3 separate regions of the Homo sapiens genome follow, and all the other regions are linked to region 1. Evidence: promoter capture Hi-C in 16 types of primary human blood cells and fetal thymus (Javierre and others, 2016). All regions are on one chromosome and are shown on one strand. The core of a region is centred on a gene start or on the middle of the fragment in contact, and the rest is flanking DNA. Distances in the headings are between cores, read along the strand shown. Region 1 holds the start of CREB3L3 (cAMP responsive element binding protein 3 like 3). Region 2 overlaps ZFR2 (zinc finger RNA binding protein 2). Region 3 holds the start of HDGFL2 (HDGF like 2).

Region 1 (3,395 bases), core at 419-2,918:
CAAGTTTGAGTTTGAACCTAACTCCAAATTGCTGTGTGACTTTGGATGAGTTTCCACCCTGCTCTGGGCCTCCATTCCCCACCTGTAAGAAGGAGCTGATGCTACCCGCTAAATGATGTGCTTGGCTAAAATCAAGCACCGTGACCCATTAGTGCATCGTAGAGCTGAGCAGAGCTCTGGCTGGGCTCTGGCGGGTCTAGCACCTTCGTGGGGCCTCAGTTGGCCCGCCTGGAGCTCTGTGGTCCCGGGGCAACTGCAGTGGACTCCTCACCTGGTCCTTGACGTGACCCCAGCCCTCGCCCAGCTCCACGTGTCTCAGGATGCCGTCCTGCCGGTCAAACAGGAGATCCAGGAGCTCAAAGCTGTCGATGGGGTCCATGGAGCAGGCAGCAGAAGCCATCTGGGGCGCGAGGAACAGATGTGAGGGTCACATACAGCCCCTGTCCTCCCCACCTCCCATGTGCACATAACCCTGGCTCTTTCCGGCTAGAGTTCAGTTGCCGCTCTGCCTCCGGGTTGGGCCAGCTGCTGCCCCTCGCTGAGACTCCCTTTCCAAATCTGGACTTTGAGGCTGATAGAGAGAATTCCACAGTGTGAGAGCCAATTTCTCTTAAAGTGCTGGAGAGGCTGGATGTGGTGGCTCATGCCTGTAATCTCAGCACTTTGGGAGGCCGGGGCAGGAGGATCACTTGAGCCCAGGAGTTCAAGACCAGCCTGCGCAACATAGAGACCCCTATCCCTACTGCAAATAATTTAAAAAAATTAGCTGGCTGCGGTGGCACACACTTGTCGTCCCAGCTACTGGGGAGGCTGAGGTAGGAGGATCCCTTGAACCCAGGAGGTTGAGGCTGCAGTGAGCTATGGCCACCCCACTGCACTCCACCCTGGGTCACAGAGCAAGACCTTGTTTCAAAAAACAAAAAAGTATGGCAGGCACGGTGGCTCACATCTGTAATCCCAGCACTCTGGGAAGCCGAGGCGGGCAGCTCACCTGAAGTCAGGAGTTTGAGACCAGCCTAGCCAACATGGTGAAACCCTGTCTCTAGGAAAAGTACAAAAATTAGCCGGGCGTGGTGGTGCACACCTGTAATCCCAACTACTTGGGAGGCTGAGGCAGGAAGATCTCTTGAACCCAGGAGGTGGAAGTTGCAGTGAGCTGAGATCGTGCCATTGCACTCTAGCCTGGGTGACAGAGGGAGACTCCATCTCAAAAAATAAAAATAAAAATAAAATAAAATAAAATAAAAAGTGCTGGAGAGAGGCCCTAGCTAGAGATGCCGCTTGCCTCTCAGGCCTTCACAGCCTCCCCAAGTGCCCGCTCCTAGGAGGCAGGGGGACCTGGAAGAAAGACAAGGGCAGCCCCGGGGCAAAGGCACACAGTTTTGCTCATTGCATCCTTTCTCTGGGCCTCAGTCTTCCCATCTGTACAATAGGGGTGGAGATGGGGTCCTTCCAGCTCTGGCAGCTTGGGTAGGCTTTCCCAGCCTAGACTCCCGCTCTCCCTGGGGACCTAGTAGGGCTCACCTTTCCAGCAGCTAAATCCGTATTCATGGGTCCATCCAGTTCTGTCTGCAGATGCCTCGGGGGGTCTCTGCTCCAAGCTGGAGGCCCACCCACCGCCAGCGTTACCTGGGGCCGGGCAAGCTCACAGCCCTCTGTGGCTCTGTCACCACTCCCAAAAGATGCTGAAGCGGTCACAGGCAGCTCCCAGCCCACCTCCAGGTGCTGATTGGTGGACAGGGTGGAGAGACAGGGTTGAGGGCCAGTGACACTGGGGCAGGCAGGAGCAGGGGAGGGAAGACCGTTATCTGGGTGTTTTGTGGTTTTCCAGCCCTCAGTGAGCAAAGGTCGAAGTCTGGGGTACCTCCACTCTGCCGTGACCTCTGCCCTACTTATGAGGACTTTTTCTTTTTTTCTTTCTTTTTTGAGACGGAGTCTCGCTCTGTGGCCCAAGCTGGAGTGCAGTGGTGCCATCTCATTTCGGCTCACTGCAACCTCTGCCTCTTGGGTTCAAGTGATTCTCCTGCCTCAGCCTCCCGAGTAGCTGGGACTACAGGTCCCCATCACCATGCCCGGCTAACTTTTGTATTTTTAGTAGAGACGAGGTTTCATCATGTTTTCCAGGCTGGTCTCGAACTCCTGACCTCGTGATCGGCCCCTCAGTCTCCCAAAGTGCGGGGATTACAGGCGTGAGCCACCGCACCCGGCCAGTTACAGGACTTTTTCTCTTCAGAATTCCCAGATGGGTTCTGGGATAGCCCAGGGCCCTTACATGGGTCCTGTCCACTCCCTGGACAGAAACAAACCAAGAGGACCAGACCAGATCTTCACTGAAGCCAGTTTTCCTGCCAGCAGCTAGCGGCTCCCATCCTTCACCCCACCTGCCAACCTCCGGCCCCCAGCCCCCTCCGAAACCAGCTTGGACTCCGCCTCTGAGTCCCCATGGGTGATTCTGTGCAATCAATTCTCTCTAGAATCTTCTATCGTTCATTGAGTCAACAAATATTTATGGAGCCAAACTGGTTCCTGCTTAGGGCCTTTGCACCTACTCACCTGCTCGCCCCTCTGCCTGGAACTCTCCTCTTGTACCCTCCCTCTTCCCCTCTGGCTCTAGGTCACTGTATTGACATTTTAGTGAATGTTCGATATTTGTGAATCAGCCCGGGTGGCTGAGAGGTGTCTCTGACCTCCCCTCCACCCCCTACCAAGAGAGAGGAGCCCTGTTTTGTTTTTTTGTTTTTTTTTTTGGTGTTGGTGGAGGACAGGGTCTCACTCTATTGCCCAGGCTGGAGTGCAGTGGCAGGATCATAGCTCACTGCAGCCTCCAACTCCTGGGTTCAAGTGATCCTCCCGTCTCAGCCTCCCAAGTAGCTAGGACTGCAGGCGTGCACCACCACACCTGGCTAATTTTGTTTTTTTTTTTTTATAGAGATGGGGTCTTACTGTGTTGGCCAGTATGGTCTCAAACTCCTGGGCTCAAATGATCCACCTGCTTCAGCCTCCCAAAGTGCTGGATTTACAGGCATGAGCCACTGTGCCCAGGCAAAGTCCCCCTTTAGCAGATGACATATTAGACCAAGCGTGGTGGCTCACATCTGTAATGCCAGCACTTTGGGAGGCCGAGGTGGGTGGATCACCTGAGGTCAAGAGTTTGAGACCAACCTGGCCAACATGGTGAAACCCCATCTGTACTAAAAATATAAAAATTAGATGGGTGTGGTAGCACATGCCTGCAATACCAGTACTCGGGAGGCCGAAGCAGGAGAATCACTTGAACCCAGGAGGCGGAGGTTGCAGTGAGCTGAGATCACACCACTGCACTCCAACCTGGGCGACAGTGAGACTCTGTCTCAAAAAAAAAAAAAATGACATGTTCAGTGCAGTCCTGAAGGATG
Region 2 (3,699 bases), core at 885-3,384, 300 kb after region 1:
GGCTGCCCCATTGGAGACAAAGCCCATGCTCTACTTCCTCGTGTAAGCATGCTTAGTGGAATGGAACAGCAGTGTGTGCATGCACGTGTGTGTGCATGCATTTGCATGTTTTGGTGGCTTCTGGGGTCACAAGCAATGACTTGAGATGAGGCAGGCCAAGTGTTCCCTTCCTGAGTCATGGTCACTGTGTGGTCACAGTCACCAAACACATATTACTCTTGGCTGTTCCCAGGCCCTGTTTTAGGTGTTTGTAAAGCCCTACACTGCTGAGAGCTGGCTTTGACTGTGCTTTCCTGCCGGTGACATGATGGCGCATGTGTTCTGTCCCCCTGTCCATCACCCCCTCTAGTTCTGGCCCCTGTGTGTCTCGTGTCCTTAATGGGCCTTCCCTCTAACTGCTCCCCTCTCTAACCGTCTCCACCTGTCTTGGTCGGCTGGGGCTTCCCTAACAATACCACAGACTGAGGCTTAAACAAAATGTATTTTTTCCCTGTTCTGGAGGCCAGAAGTGTGAGATCTAGGTGCCAGCAGGGGGTGGTTTCTGGTGAGGGCTCTCTCCTTGGCTTTCAGATGGCCACCTCCTCACAGTGTCCTCCTGTGGCTTTTTCTCTGTCCATGTGCACTGCTGGTGTCTCTTTTTTTTTTTTTTTTTTTTTTTGAAAAGACTGCCCTGTCATCCAGGTTGCAGTGCAGTGGTGAGATCACAGCTCACTGCAGCCTCAATCTCCTGAGCTTAATCGAGCCTCCCACCTCAGCCTCCCAAGGATCCACAGGCGCAAAGTGTGGTTTTTTTGTGTGTGTTTGTTTTGTTGTTGTTGTTGTTGTTGTTGTTGTTTTTCTGTAGAGATGGGATCCCAGTATCTTGCCCAGGCTGATGTCTAACTCCTGGGCTCAAGTGATCCTCCTGCCTCAGCCTCCCAAAGTGCTGGGATTAGAGGTGTGAGCCACTGTGCCCGGCCTCTTCCTTTTCTTATAAGGACCCCAGTTCTGCTCAGATCAGTCCCCACCTGATGACGTCATATAACCTTCATTCCCTCCCTGAAGGCCTCATCTCCAAATACAGTCACATGGGGGTTAGGGCTTCAACATAAGAATTGGGGGCAGGGGGACGTAATTCAGGCCAAAGCTTGTCATGAGATGCCCAGGTGGCTCCTCATGGCTGAGGATAAATCCCAGGTTCTACCTGGCACTGGAGAGCCCTGAGCTGCCTCCCGTCACCCCTCACCCTGATAACCTCTGTCCCTCAGCACCCAGGACAGTCGCCCCACCAGCACTCCTCATTTCTCCCACGCTCCTCTCAGCGAGCCCCTCCTCTTTGAAATCCCAGGCACCCTTCCCCGGGGCTTTTCCAGCCTCTGGGGGAGCCTCCTGGGTCTTCAGAGCAGTTGGCATGCCCCTCCTTCTCCCAGAGGGTGCCTGGGTTTCGCTGCCTCTGCCCCCGCGTCTCTGTTATCTGTGTAGGAGAGGCACTCCATTCCTGCCATCAGACAGCAGAGTGGCGGGACAGGGTGGGGACCTGCGGCGAGGTCAAGGGTATCTTGCCTGATGTCACCCTGACCCTGTATCCCTCACAGGTCCTCAGTCTGCTCACAGCTGTGACGTTCACAGGGTGTAACACTGAAACCAGTGGGAGTTGCCCTGCAGGCCAGCAGGGATGCTGAGACCTGCCCTCAGCCAGCGGACGTCCAGCCATCTGCATGTTGGTCGCACATCCATTTTCCCTGCGCCCTGGCTCAGTGGATTCCAAACTGTAGCGTGCCTGAGCATTGCTGTTCAGGGTTGTCTACAAGAAGAGCGTGTTCTTTTTCATTCACTGTCTTCATGGTGCTGACTCAAGCCTGACTCCAAGTCAGAGGCCAGCCTACAACATCCTGGGGATCCTTCCAGAGTATGGGCTGAACCAGGCAGGAAGCAGCCTTTGGCTCTGTCCACCTGCACAAGGCTACGCCCTGGCATTGAGCTTGTCCTAGACCATCAGTTCTTAACTGGTCAAGGTCTGGGAACATTTGTCATTGTCACGATTTGGGGGAGCTCCTGGCATGGAGTGGGTGGAGGCTGGGGACGCTGCTCAGCACGCTGCAGGGCCCAGAACGGCCCCACCCCAGAGAACAATGTTGTCCCAAATGTCAGAAGGGCCTGAGTTGGAAAGCTCTGCCCTCTGCTGCATGGGCTGTCTGATCTCTGCCATGGAGCCAGTTCACCAACCAGCCGCCTCCACTGTCCTCTTAGGTGGGGTGTCCACCAGGTGGAGACAAAGCTGTGTGCGGAGGCACAGCAGGAGCAGATAGAGAAAGCCCCACAGGTTCCTGCTCCTTCCTTGGGGTCCTGGGCTGAAGGACTCTGCTCAGCCTTCCACCTGAGGTTCACTTGCCCCCACAGCCCTCTGCTGGTGCTGCTCAGCACGCCTGGGCCTCCAGGTTGGAGGGGCAAGGTCTCAGGACCCAGGGAAGCCAGAGAAGAATGGAGCTTCCTCCCCAGAAAGCTACTCACGATTTACTATCTAGTACTGAACGCTTTGTGTTTTTGTTTGTTTGGTTTTTGTTTTGTTTTGTTTTGTTTTGTTTTGAGACGGAGTCTCGCTTTGTTGTCCAGGCTGGAGTGCAGTGGTGTGATCTCGGCTCACTGCAAGCTCCGCCTCCGGGGTTCATGCCATTCTCCTGCCTCAGCCTCCTGAGTAGCTGGGACTACAGGTGCCCGCCACCACACCTGGCTAATTTTTTTTTGTATTTTTAGTGGAGACGGGGTTTCACCGTGTTAGCCAGGATGGTCTCGATCTCCTGACCTCGTGATCCGCCCACCTCAGCCTCCCAAAGTGCTGGGATTACAGGCGTGAGCCACCGCGCCCAGCCTAACACTTTGTGTTTTTAAGAGATGGGGTCTTGCTCTGTTGCCCAGGCTGGAGTGCAGTGGTGTGATCTCAACCTACTAGGTTCAAGAAATCCTCCTGCCTCAGCCTCCTGAGGAGCTGGGACTGCAGGTGCACCACCATGCCTGGCTAATTTTTCTGTTTTGTAGAGATGGGATCTTGCTATGTTGCCCAGGCTGGTCTTAAACTCTTGGGCTCAAGAGATCCTCCCATCTTGGCCTCCCAGAGTGCTGGGATTACAGGTGTGAGACACCACACCTGGCCATGAAAGCTTTTTTCCGAGATGGAGTTTCGCTCTTATTGCCCAGCCTGGAGTGCAATGGCACAGTCTTGGGTCACTGCAACCTCCACCTCCCCCATTCAAGCGATCCTCCTGCCTCAGCCTCCCAAGTAGCTGGGATTACGGGCGCCCGCCACCATGCCTGGCTAATTTTTGCATTTTTAGCAGAGACGGGGTTTCACCATGTTGGCCAGGCTGGTCTCGAACTCCTGACATCAGGTGATCCACCTGCCTCGGCCTCCCAAAGTACTGGGATTACAGGCGTGAGCCACTGTGCCCAGCCATGAAAGCTTTTTATACAAAAGAGGCAGCAGGTCTCAGTCCAAAGGGCTCTAGAGCTGCAACCGTACTTGGATTTCCCTGCCCCTGCACTATATCTTGGGCCGATCATACCCTCTTGTTGAGCTCTGTAGATTGTACAAAACCAAAGAGAGGGCCTGTGGGTGTCCTCCCAGTCTCCATCCTGTCCTGTCTTCTGGCCAGCTTGGTTTGGACTCCGCCCCTCTCCTGTATGTCTCAGGAGAGGGTGGTCCCGGCTCCAGGAGTGGAGCCT
Region 3 (3,453 bases), core at 893-3,392, 320 kb before region 1:
TGGCCCCTGGGCTCGGCCATGGGCCGCCAGGCCCAGCATCCCTCTCCCGCCAGAAGCATCCTAAATTCAGTCCACCCGAGGACCAGCCCGGCATGCCTCACAGCCCCGCTTCTCCCAAGACCCGCCCACGGTCCTCCGAGGCCCACCCATCCCAGCGGCATTGCCAGCTTCGGACCTGGGCTGGTTCTGGTCCAGAGCACCGTTTGGTGTCCCCCTCCACAGCCCCTCCCTGCTGCCCCAGCCTTCCACCCCCAGTGCCAAATTCCTCAGTCCTGCCCGGCAAATTCCACCAACCTCAGCCCTGGGAGACTCAGCCCTAAGACCTGGGGATGACAATAGCCTGGGGTCCCTGCTTCCCGCTGGCCTGTACCTCTCAGGGCCTGGAACTCACCCCCTCCACACCTGGGACTCCAAGGTGCGGAATATCCTTCAGGCCAGGACACCTGGGACTATCCAGGTCGTCGGGACCCCAGCTTCCACCAAAGGGGCATCCAAGGTCCCCTCGGCCAGCCCCCTTCCCTCAGAAGCGCTCCCACTCCCTGGGCCCGGGCCTGTCTCCATTTCAAGCATTGGGGTTGGACCACCCCACCCTCAAGTCCCTCCAAAACCAGCTTCTACATCCTCCTCCCCACAGGGGACCAATCCCCAGGGTCCCCCAACAGTCCCGATGCCAACTTCATTCTAAGGTCCAGTTCCCCGAGTCCCAGTGACCCCGTGAACAGAGCCCCGAGCCCCATTCCCCCACCCCCAGCCCCTCACTCAGAGGTCCCAGCTTCCCTTAGCCTTGACCCTCAACCTTCCCCCCTGACTGCCTCCTCCAACCCTGGACCCCTAGCACATGGCCCTCGGCCCCCCAGCCCCTCAAAACTGGGCTTCTCCAGGACCCACAAGGGAGTGCTTCAGCCCCCATATCTGACCCCAAATCTCAAGTTCCGCAGTTCTGCTCAAACTTGAACCTTGAGCCCTCAGGCCTGGGATCCCCAGGCCCTCAGGTGAGGGTCCCTCAGGTCCCAGACCCTCCCAGACACCCTGCGCACGGCTCCCTGAGGCACCCTGGACACCCCCAGACACACGAGGCGTGGCTCCCTCTGGGCCAGGGCAACCCCAGATCCCCATGGTGCAGCTCCCTCAGGCACAGAAGCCCCAGACCCCCAGAGCGCAGCTTCCTCAGGCCCAGGACCCCCAGACCATTGGCGCCGCAGCTCCTTCAGGCCCTGGACACCCCCCAGATCCCCACGGCGCAGCTCCCTCAGGTCCAGGACCGCCATTCCCCCAGAGTGAGAATTTATCAGGCCCCAGACCCCCAGGGCACCGCTTCCTCGGGCCCGGGACCCCCAGACCGTCGGCGCGCGGCTCTTTCAGGCCCCAAACACCCCCAAACCCCCAAGGTGCGACTCCCTCGGGCCCAGGATACCCCCAGACTCCCAGGGAGCGACTCTCTGAGCCCCAAAACCCTCATACACCAAGGGCGAGAGTCTCTCAGGCCGCAGACACCCTCAGAACCCCTAGGCGCGGCCCCCTGAGGCCCAGGGCCCCCAGACCCCGGGGCGCGGCTCCTGCAGGGCTTGGACACCCCCAGAACCCCAGGACGCAGCTCCCTGAGGCCGAGGACCCCCAGACCCCGGGAGGGGCTCCTGCAGGCCCAGACGGCGGGTCCTGCAGGATCCGAACACCACCAGACCACAAGAACGCGGCTCCCTGCAGCCCAGGACCCCCAGGCCCCGAGGGCGGGGCTCCCTGAGGCCCAGGATCCCTAGACCCCGGGGCGCGGCTCCGGCAGGCCCCGGACAACCCCAGACCCCTAGGGCGCAGCTCCCTGCGGCCCAGGACCCCCAGACCCCCAGGGCGGGGCCGCTGCGGGTCTCGGACACCCCCAGACCCCATGAACCCCAGACCCCCGGGGCGCAGCTCCTTCAGGCCCAGGACAACCCCGGCCCTCCAGTGCCCGCCTCCGGCCCGGGGCCCCCGCTGCCCCCCCCCCCCCCCCCACCGGCCCCATCTCCCGCGCGGCCTCACCCTGGCAGGCCAGTGAGGGTAGCCCTTCATCTTAGCGAACACCAAGTCCCCGGGCTTGAAGGCGTGTGGCATGCTGACGGCGAGAGGCCCAGGCCGCGGAAAGCGGCTGCAGCGGCGGTAGCGGCTGCGGCGGCGGCGGCGGCGGCAGCGGGAGGCGAAGCCGGGGGCGGGAGCGGGACGCCGAGGGGGCGGGGGAGGCTGTCTGGGCAGCCTGCCGACGCGCGCTTATTGGGCGTTGCGCCAACGGAAGTTCAGCCCTCCGGCCGTCACGGGCCGGCAAAGCCGTCGATCAGGACCACGTGCAGGGGACAGAGAAGGGAGGCGACCAATAAGAACAGAGGTTGGAGCACAGCAGTTAACGGGATTGGATAACGGACAGACCCAAGGGGCGTAACCCAGAGACTCTAATGGGAGGTTATGGGAGGTGAAAGGGAAAGGTGGGAGGAGACGAACAGACGCTCTAAGGGAGTGAAGGGGTGGAGCTTAAGGGAAAGAGGCAGGACATAGACCTCCACAAGAGAAGGGGATATAAGGAGGGCAGAACATTGGATACCGCAGAAAAGAAGGCCAATCACTTAACGCAATGGGCGGGTCATTGACAGCCTCTCCCGCTCAGGAGGAGAGGCTTAAAGTAGATATGCAAGCCATTGGATACCACAAGAGAAGCGCCTCAAGGTAGGGAGCAGGCATTGGCCATCACAAGAGGCGGGGCTTCAGCGGGAACGTCGGCCATTGGCTATCGAAAGAAGAGCGATACAACATAAAACAGGGACGGGCGATTGCCAGCTCGAGGAGGCGGGACTTAGAGGAAGGGGCAGGCTCCGGGGGAGCTCTTAGTATAAACAGCCACAAAATGCACAAAATAGTTATTTCTTCACTTAGTTAAAAACTTAACTGAGTACCTACTATATGCCAGGGCCCCAAAACGCCACACAGACCTATTCATTCATTCAAGAAAAATGTACTGAATACCGTGGGGCCGAGTCACTTGATTGTCCTGGGCTTCGCTCTCTGCACTTGGAAGATGGGGCCCATAATGATTGTGAGGACCCTGCTCTAGACTGAGCCCGGCAACAGGAAATACAGGAAGTATTAGAAGCTATAACTCGGCCGGACGCGATGGCTCACGGCTGTAACCCCGGCACTTTGAGAGGACGAAGCGGGCGGATCACGAGGTCAGGAGTTTGAGACCAAGCCTGGCCAACATGGTGAAACCCCGTCTCTACTAAAAATACAAAAATTAGCTGGGCGTGGTGGCACGCACCTATACCAGCTACTCAGGAAGCTGAGGCAGGAGAATCACTCGAACCCAGGAGCGGGGGGTTGCAGTAAGCCGAGATCGCGCCACTGCACTCCAGACTGGGTGACAGAGCAGAAAAAAAAAAGCTATAACTCTACCTTCCGGCAGGGCGTGGTGGCTCACGCCTGTAATCCCAG

What was found. Contacts are between HindIII fragments. The CHiCAGO score rates a contact against its expected background, and 5 or more counts as called.
Region 2: a contact is called between a fragment that was not itself captured here and the fragment with the promoter of CREB3L3 in region 1, in 3 of 17 cell types (total CD8 T cells, endothelial precursors and naive CD8 T cells). The highest score is 6.4, in total CD8 T cells.
Region 3: the fragment with the promoter of HDGFL2 here is called in contact with the fragment with the promoter of CREB3L3 in region 1 in 4 of 17 cell types (erythroblasts, M0 macrophages, non-activated CD4 T cells and 1 more); the score reaches 6.4 in erythroblasts.

Annotation. Positions count from the first base shown.
Region 1 is chr19:4,151,904-4,155,298 of GRCh38, reverse strand. It overlaps CREB3L3 (cAMP responsive element binding protein 3 like 3), which reads right to left and starts at 1,668. Exons shown (of 10, transcript NM_032607.3): 1 at 1,525-1,668; 2 at 272-400. The coding sequence starts at 1,551. The HindIII fragment of the contact is 35,033 bases long and covers 1-3,395 here.
Region 2 is chr19:3,847,860-3,851,558 of GRCh38, reverse strand. The region is part of intron 1 of ZFR2 (zinc finger RNA binding protein 2); the gene reads left to right. Among named protein-coding and RNA genes, the nearest start is that of ZFR2, 19 kb to the left of the region's middle. RefSeq lists an enhancer at 1,533-2,034. The HindIII fragment of the contact is 2,011 bases long and covers 1,129-3,139 here.
Region 3 is chr19:4,470,986-4,474,438 of GRCh38, reverse strand. It overlaps HDGFL2 (HDGF like 2), which reads right to left and starts at 2,142. Exons shown (of 16, transcript NM_001001520.3): 1 at 2,017-2,142. The coding sequence starts at 2,088. RefSeq lists enhancers at 1-227, 2,717-3,066, 3,327-3,453 and silencers at 1,947-2,006, 2,037-2,216. The HindIII fragment of the contact is 12,260 bases long and covers 1-3,453 here.